Regions from separate parts of the Homo sapiens genome. Here region 1 is linked to region 2. The links are contacts of gene promoters, found by promoter capture Hi-C in human tissues and cell types (Jung and others, 2019). All regions are on one chromosome and are shown on one strand. Each heading gives the region's core, a stretch centred on a gene start or on the middle of the fragment in contact. The rest is flanking DNA. Distances are from core to core; before and after follow the strand shown.

Region 1 (5,722 bases), core at 2,249-4,748, 180 kb before region 2:
TGTTTGTCCTTTGACAAGATCTCCCCAGTTGAAAGAATTTTGTTTATCTAACTGGCTGGGCAGACTTGGCTAAGATCAAAATTAACTGCCTTGCTTAATGGTGTAATAGATGGTATTTTGAAGAGCTTCCACTGAGTTCTCCTTGAAAGGACGTGGGGTCTAGAAAGTCCAGCCTCTGGCAAAGTTATGGCATTTTGGTGTAGGTGTTTTTTCCTCCTTGTGCTACCTGTAGGATGGATGCCCATAACCCATTACTCTACCCTGAGTCACTCTATCTGTTGGAGGGTGGCTGGATGGATGGATGATGGGTAGATTGGCAGATCGACAGTTTAATTTGCTTGTCATATGTCTTAAATGTAAGTTTGTTAAAGCTTAAGAGGAAAGAAAACCTGTAATCAGTGTTCTTGCAAAAAAAATTTGCACAGCCCTATGGCTGTGTCTTTGGGCTTCATTCATTCATGTGTTCATTCATTCAACAAAAACAGCATTTAATAAGCACCTAGTATGTACTAAGCTCATGGGATATAGATTTGAACAAAATAAGAATCTCTGCCTGCAAAGAGCTTACTATTTAGTGTGAGAGACATGCATTGAAGGGCAATTAAACAAATAATTATTTAACTATAGCTGTAATCATTTTTTATATTTTTATTGAGATTTAATTCATATATCATGAAATTCACCATTTTATTTATTTATTTTTGGGGTTTTCTTTTTTGTTTTGTTTTTGTTTTTGTTTTGTTTTGTTTTGTTTTTTGAGACGGAATCTCACTCTGTCGCCCAGGCTGGAGAGCAGTGGCACGATCTCGGCTCACTGCAACCTCCACCTCCCGGGTTCAAGTGATTCTCCTGCCTCAGCCTCCCAAGTAGCTGGGACTACAACAGGTGCATGCCACGTGCCCGGCTAAAAATTCACCATTTTAAAGCATACAATTTGATGGTTTTTAATGTATTCACAGAGTGGTTTTTAAAATGATAAAGTTGAGTGAAAACTTCAGTCTCTTCTGTTGCATTTTCAGCACAAGCACAAACACTTAGTCTGATTTACTCCAACAGATTTCTCATTATGTTGATATTGTGACCTTGGGGATCATTAATGTCATAAAGGGAGGAGCAGGGAACATTGGAGGTGTTGAATTTAGCCACAGTAGCTTAGAAGCTTCCTGGGTTCCTCTTACCCATTCTGGAAGGTGCTTTTCACATGAGATAACTCCAGTGAGAATTTTCTTCTCTGCCCCTTACTTGAACTTCCTGGTCTGGGCAGCCTCGTCTGCATCTCATAATTCTGTTCTTGAAAAATATATCCTAAAAAGGTCCCCAGCTACAGGTAGAAGAAATTCAAGGATTGGGAACCCTCAGGGTCGACTCCATATATGCAAAAGTTAAAATGGCAAGTGCAATTAAGCTTTCCATGACGTAGCTCAGCTGACCCTGTTTCAGAAAAATAATGACTCATTGGTCCTCTTACTACATATTACTTGATTTGAAATGTAAAATGCTTGCATTTTCAGATACCTTGCAGGGTGATCTGATGGGGCCCATAAGGGATTGAAGGGATCCAAGTTTGGTTTCTGGCTCTGCCCAAGTTTTGCTTTGCCTTCCTGTTCTCCTCTGAAGATGAGGGAAATGACAAAACCAGTCTCCTTTATGGGGGCTGTGAGGAAGCCAAGGTAGATATGAGGTACAGCTGCCTTGGACTGAGCTACCTCCTACTAGTGGCTAAGCTTTCAGGAACTTGTCTGGTTGGTAGACAATCAGCCATCTGTACAGAAAGTTCCAGACATCCTCCCTCTCAAGAACAGCACTGATTTCATCAGAAGACAGCTTTGTAGTATTACCAAAAAAAGAATAAACTAGCATTAGTGTTGTTCAGAGTTTTGTGGCAACCCCCTGAAAACATCAGTATCAAGGGTGAAATTCACCTCATGATCGTGACAACCGTAATGTCTTCCACTTATATAGCCTTACACAAATTTCAGTGCACTTTCATATTCCTTATCTCACTAATTCTCATGCCCATGTTGTGATATTCCCACATGTCACAGGCCGTGATAGTCCTATAGCCTGGGTGAAAAACTCACCATCCAGGGAAGGGACTCGCCTGTGATGGCAAAGGCCACTCATCTATCCTCTCTCCTTTCTTTCCCCCTCTCTCAAAAGCCTGCCTGCTTTTTCCACTCACTGTTCTGTAATATTATTGCCTATGATTTGCTAATGATTTGTCAGTTCCATTTCCGTTACTCAGGTAAAACACCTGCTTGTATAATCGCTGACATTGAAAAGAATGTCATGAATCCATGTGACAGTTAATTTTATTCCCTAGTTCCCGTCTGCGTCGTAGGTACCTGTGAGTTTGGGTTAATTAAGCTGAGTTCGCTCTCTTTTTTCACCTTTTTGTTAGCGAGCTGGGGATCCTCTAGGTTGGATCAGCAGCTGAGTTATCCTTGGGCTGTGATCAGTGCCAGAGCCTCAGGGAATCCTCCGTTTCTTCCCCCTTAGAGCACTTGGCGGCTGTACAGGCTTCTGGATATGAATGCAAGCCTGGAAGCCACTTGCTTTGGACATTCATGTGCATCATCTTCTTCTCCTTTTAAAGATACATGACTGATGGTGGACTTGGCCTCTATACCCGTCGCCTGAACCGGCTCCCTGATGGGATGGCTGTGGTACGGGAGACCCTGCAACGAAATACCTCCCTGGGCCTCGGAGACGCTGACAGGTAAGCTTGCTGCACTTGGGGCTGGTCAGATGCAGAGGTGATCCCAGGGGGGCCCTGAGAAATGAGGGTTATGATATTGGGAGAGTGAATGGAGACTTGAACCCACAGAGAGGGAGGGGAGGCCTGGAATCTGTACCTGGGGTTAGGAGCAGGTACAGTAGGTAGGAAAGGGCTGCCGAGGGTTCTTGAGTCCTGCTTCTGTGTAGGGTGGTGCTTCTGACAGCAGTAACACAGGGAGTTCAGGCTTGGGTGGTTTTGGTTATTGTTTTGCTTGTTGCTACTGTGTCTTTGTCAGTTCAGCAGGCCCTAGGGATGTGCTTTACTTCCTCTCTCATTAGCCAGCTTTCTAGGTATTGCACCTTGTGGCACAGAAGGTCTGTGTGCAGAAGGGATCTCTCCTAGCCTTGGCTGAGCAGCCTTCACCAAAAAGCCTCCTGTTGCATGGTAATAGGAGGCAATGCTTAAGGACATGGGTTTAGACACCACATGCTAAGTAGTTGACATCATAGAGGTTGATCAGGCGTCACTGCCACTGCTGTCAGGGAAGAAAAGAGGTTCAGAAAATACTGTGGTAATAAAAGAGGACTATTTGGCCTCCAGGTTCTAGTTCTTACTCTGACAAACTGATTCTATGACCCTGAGCAACCGATGAAGTGAGGAGTTTGGACTATATGATTTCTATGATCCCTTCCAGTTCTAATGTTCTATAATTCTGGATTTCAGTGCAGATTTCAAATACCCTTAATGATCTGGCTGTTTAAGGATTTGCTGGAACACTTGACTTCTTTCCACATCTGGGTTGATGAGATGTAACATGGAATTTAGATGCAAGTGGTTTAAAATGACCATAGACTTTTTGGGTACTAAACCTTTTATGTCAGAAAGCCAAATAGTAGCACAACAACAGCTTCCTGCTGTTCCCAGGGCATGCTTTTTACAAAGAGCTAAGTGACTTCTGTAATTGTGTGGCTTTAGAGAAATAGGACAGCACACCAAAGAGACAGATACTGAAATCACACCCAGAGATGGAATTTGCTGAAGAAGAATCTTCATGTTCTCTCAGGGAAGGCTGGGAAACACTGAATGAGTTGTTAGGAACTTGGGATCTGGCCCAGTCTCTACCACTAACTTGAATGTGTCCTCCTTAGAGTCCCCCCAGTGCCCAGGCTTGTGATTTATATCAGGGATGTTAAAAGGCCTTCCACTAGGGTTCTAGCTCAAGTCAGATTTTTTCCTGTAATTAACAAAGAAAGGAATGGGTTTGAAAAGTCCATAGAAACATGAACCATTTGAGAAAAAAAAGTTTTTTTTGTTTTTTTGTTGTTGTTTGTTTGTTTGTTTGTTTTTGAGACAGAGTCTCACTCTGTCACCCAGGCTGGAGTGCAGTGGCATGATCCTGGCTTACTGCAACCTCCATCTCCCGGGTTCAAGCAATTCTCCTGCCTCAGCCTCCCAAGTAGGTGAGATTATAGGCGTGTACCAGCATGCCCAGCTAATTTTGAATTTTTAGTAGAGACGGGGTTTCACCATGTTGGCCAGGCTGGTCTCGAACTCTCGAATTCAGGTGATCCACCTGCCTCGGCCTCCCAAAGTGCTGGGATTACAGGCGTGAGCCACTGCGCCCGGGCTGAGAACTGCTCTTACTAAGGAGAAACTAAACTCTCTGTAACTAAAATCTTTATAGTAAATAATAACAGTAAAAAAAAATCAGTTGCTACAACACCCCCACTGGAGATTTGACAATTTGCCAAATTATTTTGCTTATTTGTATTCTTCTATCCGTTGTTTAGTAAATCTATCCACATAAAATACAGTCCTTACAAGATACAGTTTTCCTTGTAGCAGAAGAATCTATGCTAGGCAGTTTAATTTAATGCTTCATTGTAAGATTAATGGGATTACTATAGATCACAGTTGAGCTTGTTTCCTGCTTCTGGAGATGGAGGATGAGGGTGGGGTTGAAAAGATAGGTAGCACTTGTTAGGTTGTTTTAGTTCAGCCTGTATGGTTAAACCAAATGGACAACAATGTCCTTTGGTTCTCTCCAGACTGGAATGCTCCGATATGATCATTTATTTAAAACTGAATGAGTCCGGGCATGGTGGCTCACGCCTGTAATCTCAGCACTTTGGGAGGCCAAGGCGGGCAGATCACCTGAGGTCAGGAGTTTGAGACCAGCCTGGCAAACATGATGAAACCCTGTCTCTACTAAGAATGCAAAAATTAGCCGTTTGTGGTGATGCACAACTGTAATCCCAGCTACTCGGGAGAGGGAGGCATGAGAATTGCTTGAACCCGGGAGGCAGAGGTTGCAATGAGCCGAGATTGTGCCATTGCAGCCATTGCATTCCAGCCTGGGCAACAGAGTGAGACTCAGTCTCAAAACAAAAAACAAACTGAGTGGATAACTGACAAAGTTTTAAAGAAAGAACTCAGATGGCTTTTTAAAGACATAGGATTTGCAAAAGACTACAAATTTACCCTTGTTTTACATAAGTTCTGGCCTATAGGCAAGGAGATATTTTCCATTATTCTAGAATATGCTAAATTTTTATAACTTCCAAAGTTATTATGAGCTGACCATAGTAATACTTCATCTTTGGCTAAGTTGAAATAGTACATTTGTTTCTGTAAAATTCTTTATGTAAATCGCAAATTTAGTCTCATGTAGTTACAAAATCTATATTCTAAATGAGTGTTTCCCAAAGTGGGAGGCTATCATGGTGGTATAGGAGATAGTTTTAGATGGCAGATAGGAAAATACTCCTTTTTAATAATTACATTTTAATTTTAATATTTTTTTAAAAACTTACAACTAGCACATCAAACCTGTGATTTTACAAATGCTGCTTAAGGTAAGGATAGTGTAGACTTGAGACAATTTAATGTGAAATATCAAGGAAGAATATCACAGGTGGTATGTAGTTATATCAGAAAACAAAGGTAGTATGCAAGTGGCTGCAATTTCGATAATACTGTTCTTGTCCCTGTAATTGGAAATAT
Region 2 (5,508 bases), core at 2,754-5,253:
CTTGGTGGGCAGGGTCTGCTCGCGACAGCCCCCGCTAGACAGGAGTTCGCGCTCCTTGGAGTTCCGCCATTTCATGCGTCGGTTCTGGAACCAGATTTTCACCTGGAATGTCCCGGCCGGCGAGAAGAAGGGAGAAGCAGAGGTCAGATCAGGGGCTCCGGGGGACGCACGGGGGCGGGGAGTGGAGTCGGGTGCAGGCTCTGTCCTTCGGGCTGTGTCCTCTCCCCACCCCCAGAAATGAGTTCCGGTGGATTCCCGCATTGACTCCGCCCCCGCCTCAGCTCGCGGTTCCGTTTGCCTCATCCGCTGCCACCCTGCCCCGAAGGGCGGGGTTGGGGGCCGGTGAGGCCGGGAGAGAAGGCGGGGAGTCGGGGTGGGGAGAGAAGAGGGCTATCCTGCGGAGCTTCGAGGGTAGTGGCCCGTGTACTCACTCCCTCTCTAGGCCTCGGTTTTCCCATCTGTACAGTGGGACCTAAGCCGTTTCCGAACCCTTGCAATTGACGGGTGCGCCGGGGAGGGGTGAAGGGCGGGGGCGGGGGGGGTGCTGTGGAGGAAATGCGCTCACCTGCGAGTCTTTCAGGCCCAGCTTGGCCGCCAGCTTCTTGCGGTCGGGCTTGCTGATGTACTTCTGCTTCTGGAACATCTTCTCCAGCGCCTTCCGCTGCACGTCGGAGAAGACTGCTCGACGCAGCATGCCCCGCCGAGGCTTCCCGCGCGCGGCCAGCGGCCAGGAGAAGGTCCCGGGGATGGGCACCACGCTGGAGGAAGCTGCAGGGTGGGGGGAGGTGGCGAGTGAGTGGGCGTACGCCCCCCAGTCCCAACACGGCTCTCCCTGGCTTTTTGCTCTGATCCCTTCATCTCTTTAAAACGCTCCTTTTTCTCCCCCTGGAGAATAGGCCACGAACCTACAAACCTGCGAGAGTGAAAGGCGCTTTCCGCCCAAACAACTTTCCCTTTCAACCGTGCAAACCCGGATTAGGTAAAACCACGGAAACAGAGAAAACAGCCCCCACAATAGCCTGTTTCGTTTTTCCATTCAGTGGACTTAGGGAAACAAACCTGCGTACATCAACTAAAACAGCAATAGAAAAAATAAATTACTAAAATAAAAATAAAATATCCAGCCGAGGCCACTGTGTTTCTCCCCTAAGCTTTTATCATTTCAGTGGCTTTTGCATTCTTTAGATGAAAATGAGGTGCTTTACTATTTTGATAAAGAGGGAAAAATCCGATTTAGATTTTTTGAAAAATCCAATAAGTATTCATCTTTTTTATATTAATCCTTCCTCCCCTCCCCCACGAAACGTAAAGAATTCGGCCCGAATACATGAAAAGTGGCAGCTAATTAGCACATTGACTGCTTCCCAATGGGTATTGGTATGATAAAAGGGGGGAGAGTTTTGCTTTAAGCGAAAGAAAAAAACAAAACAAAAAGAAACAGAGACTCTAATGAAGCGTGAATGGTAATTGTGTAGTAATGAACTAACAGAAAAAGACTGAGGACAAGCAGCGAAAGCCATATATTACTGGGACAAAAGAGATTTACACTTTCAAACTAAACACAACTGCAGGCCAAGACCATTGGGAGAATACTGATGGCAGAAGCTTCTCTTCCCCGAATCGTTTTCATTAAATGGACATGAAAAGCTATTTATAAAGCTCGGGTTGTTTTTGTTAGAGCATTGAGATGAGGGAGAAAGGGAGCAAATTCCATTATTAGCAGCAGTGTGAATGGTGGTGGTGGTGGTGGTGGTGGTGGTGGTGGTGGTGCTGGGGGGTGGGGGGAGGGCGAATTATCTCTCCCCTTTAAAAAATCAATTGCTTGTTTCTTTTGCTGATATTTGGGAGTGCTGTCGTGATTTTACCCATCCCCCGCAGGCCATACCCAGTTTTTCTTCTCTGTATAGGGACTCTCCTGCCTCCTTTTTAGTTTTGACCAGTGGCAGAGTTTTTGAGCCATAGTTTGAATCATCAGTGAGGTTACAGGAAGAAAACCTGGTGGAAGCTGCCTAAGGTGTTGCTGTTTTAGGCTGGGACACAATTATGGGCTTTCTTCTAACTGCTTCTTATTTTGCAAGATCAACGGTATTTTATAATACAGGGTGGGAAAGGAGTATGAGAAGGGGTTTGGAAATCAGGCTGGAAATAGGTTGGGATTGGGGGAGGATCTAATCCCCCTCCCCCTGGGCGACCCTAGGCATCCCACACAAGAGGGCACCCCATGTGGTCTTGTGAAAAGCCCGAAGCCCTGAATGAGTCTTAAAGAGAAATTAGCCCCGGCTGGTAGGTGTCTCTCGGCGGCGTGGAGGGACTAGGGCCGGTCTGTGTGTGGCTGCCCGGAGGAGCTGACCAATTGGTCATGGTGCTGAAACCTTTGTGGGGAATCGTGGCCAAGTGCACTGACTCTGTGGGAAAACGGCGGCGTGAAGGGATGCCAACAGCTCCTCGCCGGGAAGGGAACCGCCTCAAATTGGGACCATGACAATTCCTGCTAATTTGTAGAGCAGGGAATTGGTGCAAAGTGTCAAGCAGTCACTGCTTGTGCTCAATAGGGCATCAAATTGGCGCGACGGATTCATGAATGTTATACGCCTCGCAACCTCTGAACCAGAGCATAACCCCGAGGGGTGGACGGAGAAATACGGCTTCGGAGCAGGGAGCGATGGGCCGGGGCTGGGGCGCCGCCCTGCCTCGCGCAAAGAAGGGGGACGAGACCTACCTGGGAAATAAGAAGATCTGATGAAAGGCTGAAAAGACCCTTCGAAGTAGGGAAAGGCGAAGGTCTTGGGAGGGACGCTCTGGAGCAAGGCTGGGGATGTTTCTGGTGGGCGATGGAGGGGGGACAGAAGGAGAGAGGGAGACAGAAAGAATCTGATTACGTACTTGCCTATTGTATAGCACACTGAACACACGATATAATTAGCCCTTCATCTGGTTTCAAAGACATCTTTCTTATACGTTGACAGGGTAAAATAAATCTTCCCAACATTGTCTTATCTGTAAAACTCTTTTCTTTCTCCCCAACGTAATTCTCTGCGCCGTCCCACTCTACCCCAATCTCCATCCTAGGCACTAACGAGATAGGACTGAGTGGGGAGGAAAGAAATTGCAGATTTATAATATTTGCTAATCCAATAAATATATCATATTGAGTTTAAAAAAAAAAACTGTCTCCTAGAAGCTCGAAGGCAGAAACGCAGACGTCCAGGAGCGTGCGCTCAGCGTTACTGCACCAGATGACTGCGCACAGTCTCCGACTGCGTGTGCTCAAGTTCACTCCGAGGATGGGGCGAGCCTGGAGGCTTTTCTTCCCCGGAATTGACTGGACTATTCTCACATTGCCTGACGTAGGGTCTCAGAGTTCGTGCGTATTGTGTGTGCACCGATGTGTGTGTGGGGGCCCGCTCGCTAGAGGAAACTGAGGCCAGGATGACTCCGCGCATGCCTAGTACCTGAATGGGCCCTTAGGGTTCTGACCTCGCTTACCTGTTCTGGGCCCCGAGGAGAGGATGGCGTTCACTCCAAACTTCAGAAACGTCGTCTCGCTGGCAGGGGAGAAGGCAGTCGGCGGAGAGCCGCCCCGTCGGCTGCCGGGACCCGGGGAGCCCAGGTCCGAGGCCCCCGTGTCGGTGAGGGCCGTGGGGGCCCCCTGCCTGGGCGGCGACATGCTGGCGGTGGGCACGCTGCGGGGCAGGTAGGCGGGGGGTCGGCTGATGCGGATCAGATCCTCCACCAGGAAGCTGGAGTGGCCGGAAAATGCCGACTGCAAGGACTGGGGCAGCGTCAAGGTGGGCGTGGGCCGCAGGAGGCTAGGGTACCCGGCGGGGGGCGCGAGGAGGCCGGGGAACATCATGGTAGGCGCGGGCGGGCGAAATAACCCTTCTTTCAGTGGCCGGAGGGTAAACGCCTCGCTTCCCGCCCCTCCCGCCCCCACAGTGTCCTCTCTCTTGGGCTTAGCAAACGTCTCCAAGTAACAATCCCACTTGGGCGTCTGCGAGTCCTCCGTGGTCCTCTCGTCGAGGTGATGGTTTTATAGTGGCCCGCCCGCTAAAGCACTTTGAAAAGTGACAGCTCTGACAATGAAGTTCAACAAAGTTCTCCACTCGAGCTTCATTCGCCGGAGGCTCTGGACTCTCTGATTGGCGCAGGGGTGCAATTTATGATTGGATTAGTCTTCATAAGCATGGCCCGCACAATGGGCCGGCAACAAAGGCCCGCGCGCATCAATTTTGCATATCGACCGCCTCTTTGCAATACAGTGCGCCCCCAAAGCTCTCGCCAAAGGTTTTTGTTCCGAAGCAACACCCGGGCTAATTAAATGCCTATTTAGAAGTTTCAGATGACATCTTGCCTCATAGAAAAGGAATTATTTAAAGAACCCACTAAATTTATTTGCAGCTCCCCTGCTAAGCCTGGAAAATAAATCAATAAATATTCATAGAAATACATCTTCAGGCTATCAGCAAAGTTGCCCTCCCTCTTGTGGGGGTAGGGCAATGAAAAGTTTCAAGTCAGTGGACATGAAAATATACTCCCTTTCCGGTCTCTAGCCCTATCCGTTACTCCAGCTGAAGCATAAAGCAAATGTAGGGGTGAGTGAAATCAGTGTTAGAAGTCCCATTCTGACGACTCAGGGAAACTTGGAAACGGATGCTTTGGGGCCACTGGATGTGTGTCCGTAAGAGTGGGGAGAGGTCTGGAGTTATTTCATTTCGGGAGACTGGTTGAGTTTGAGCGTTGGTGGATACCTGAAAAGTAAAACGAGTCTCCTTCAAATTCCCAGCAACTTGGAAAACGATTTTCTCTAGGAGTTTCTGCAAGGGGCTGTCCGCACCTCACCTTGCGGGAGGAGCGGAGGAGAGCGGCGCTGGGCTGCCGAGCGGCAGGATTCCGCTTGCAAAGAGCTTAGGCTGACCGGAAACTGCCTCGGGCAAGGGTATCCAAAGGCTGTGAGTGCTATGCTGGCCGTTCTCCAAACACAGGGAGCTCTCGGCAGTTTAAGTTGAAACTCACAGCCCTGACATTTTAAGCCATAGCAGCGAAGGTCCAGACGTCGTCTGGAGAGAACCCTACCACTTGCGGGGCCCTTAACTTGGCCCAAGGTTTGGCAGCTTCTTAATTAACTACAACGCACAAACGCGTGAAAACCAGAGGGAAGGGATGCGGTTCCCAAGAATGTTGGTCCACTCCGGGAAAGCCTCCCCTGAATGTGGGGCTTCAAAGGAGAATCTTCCTGGAGACAGTCCCTTCGCTTTCCTCTGGTTGGGGCTGAGGTGGTACTAAGACTCGATTCCCCCCATTTCTCTGTTCGGCGAGATAACAGATGTGTTAAATGTCCCATTCATCTCTTTAGTGTGGCTGAACCTCCCCAAAGAGAAGTGTGCAGCCCCGCCAGGCCGCCCTGATCCTATTAACCATGAACTAACTGTCACCTTCAGCTGGTTTTCCTTTTTGCTTTTTAACACAAAGCTTTCTCAAAAATCTTATTAACCAGCTTTATTTCTCTCG

Evidence for each region. The method cuts DNA at HindIII sites, captures the fragments that hold promoters and counts their contacts. A contact is called where the count stands out against the background at its distance.
Region 1: a contact is called between a fragment that was not itself captured here and the fragment with the promoter of DBX1 in region 2, in 4 of the 25 tissues and cell types used here (bladder, dorsolateral prefrontal cortex, heart right ventricle and 1 more).

What each region holds. Positions count from the first base shown.
Region 1 is chr11:19,981,529-19,987,250 of GRCh38, forward strand. NAV2 (neuron navigator 2) reads left to right here. Exons shown (of 38, transcript NM_145117.5): 11 at 2,597-2,719. Among named protein-coding and RNA genes, the nearest start is that of NAV2-AS3, 3.0 kb to the left of the region's middle. The HindIII fragment of the contact is 7,575 bases long and covers 1-5,722 here.
Region 2 is chr11:20,156,472-20,161,979 of GRCh38, forward strand. DBX1 (developing brain homeobox 1) reads right to left here and starts at 4,004. Exons shown (of 4, transcript NM_001029865.4): 1 at 3,487-4,004; 2 at 2,720-2,821; 3 at 566-768; 4 at 1-102. The coding sequence starts at 3,853. RefSeq lists enhancers at 1-998, 4,384-4,885, 4,886-5,385. The HindIII fragment of the contact is 9,910 bases long and covers 1,379-5,508 here.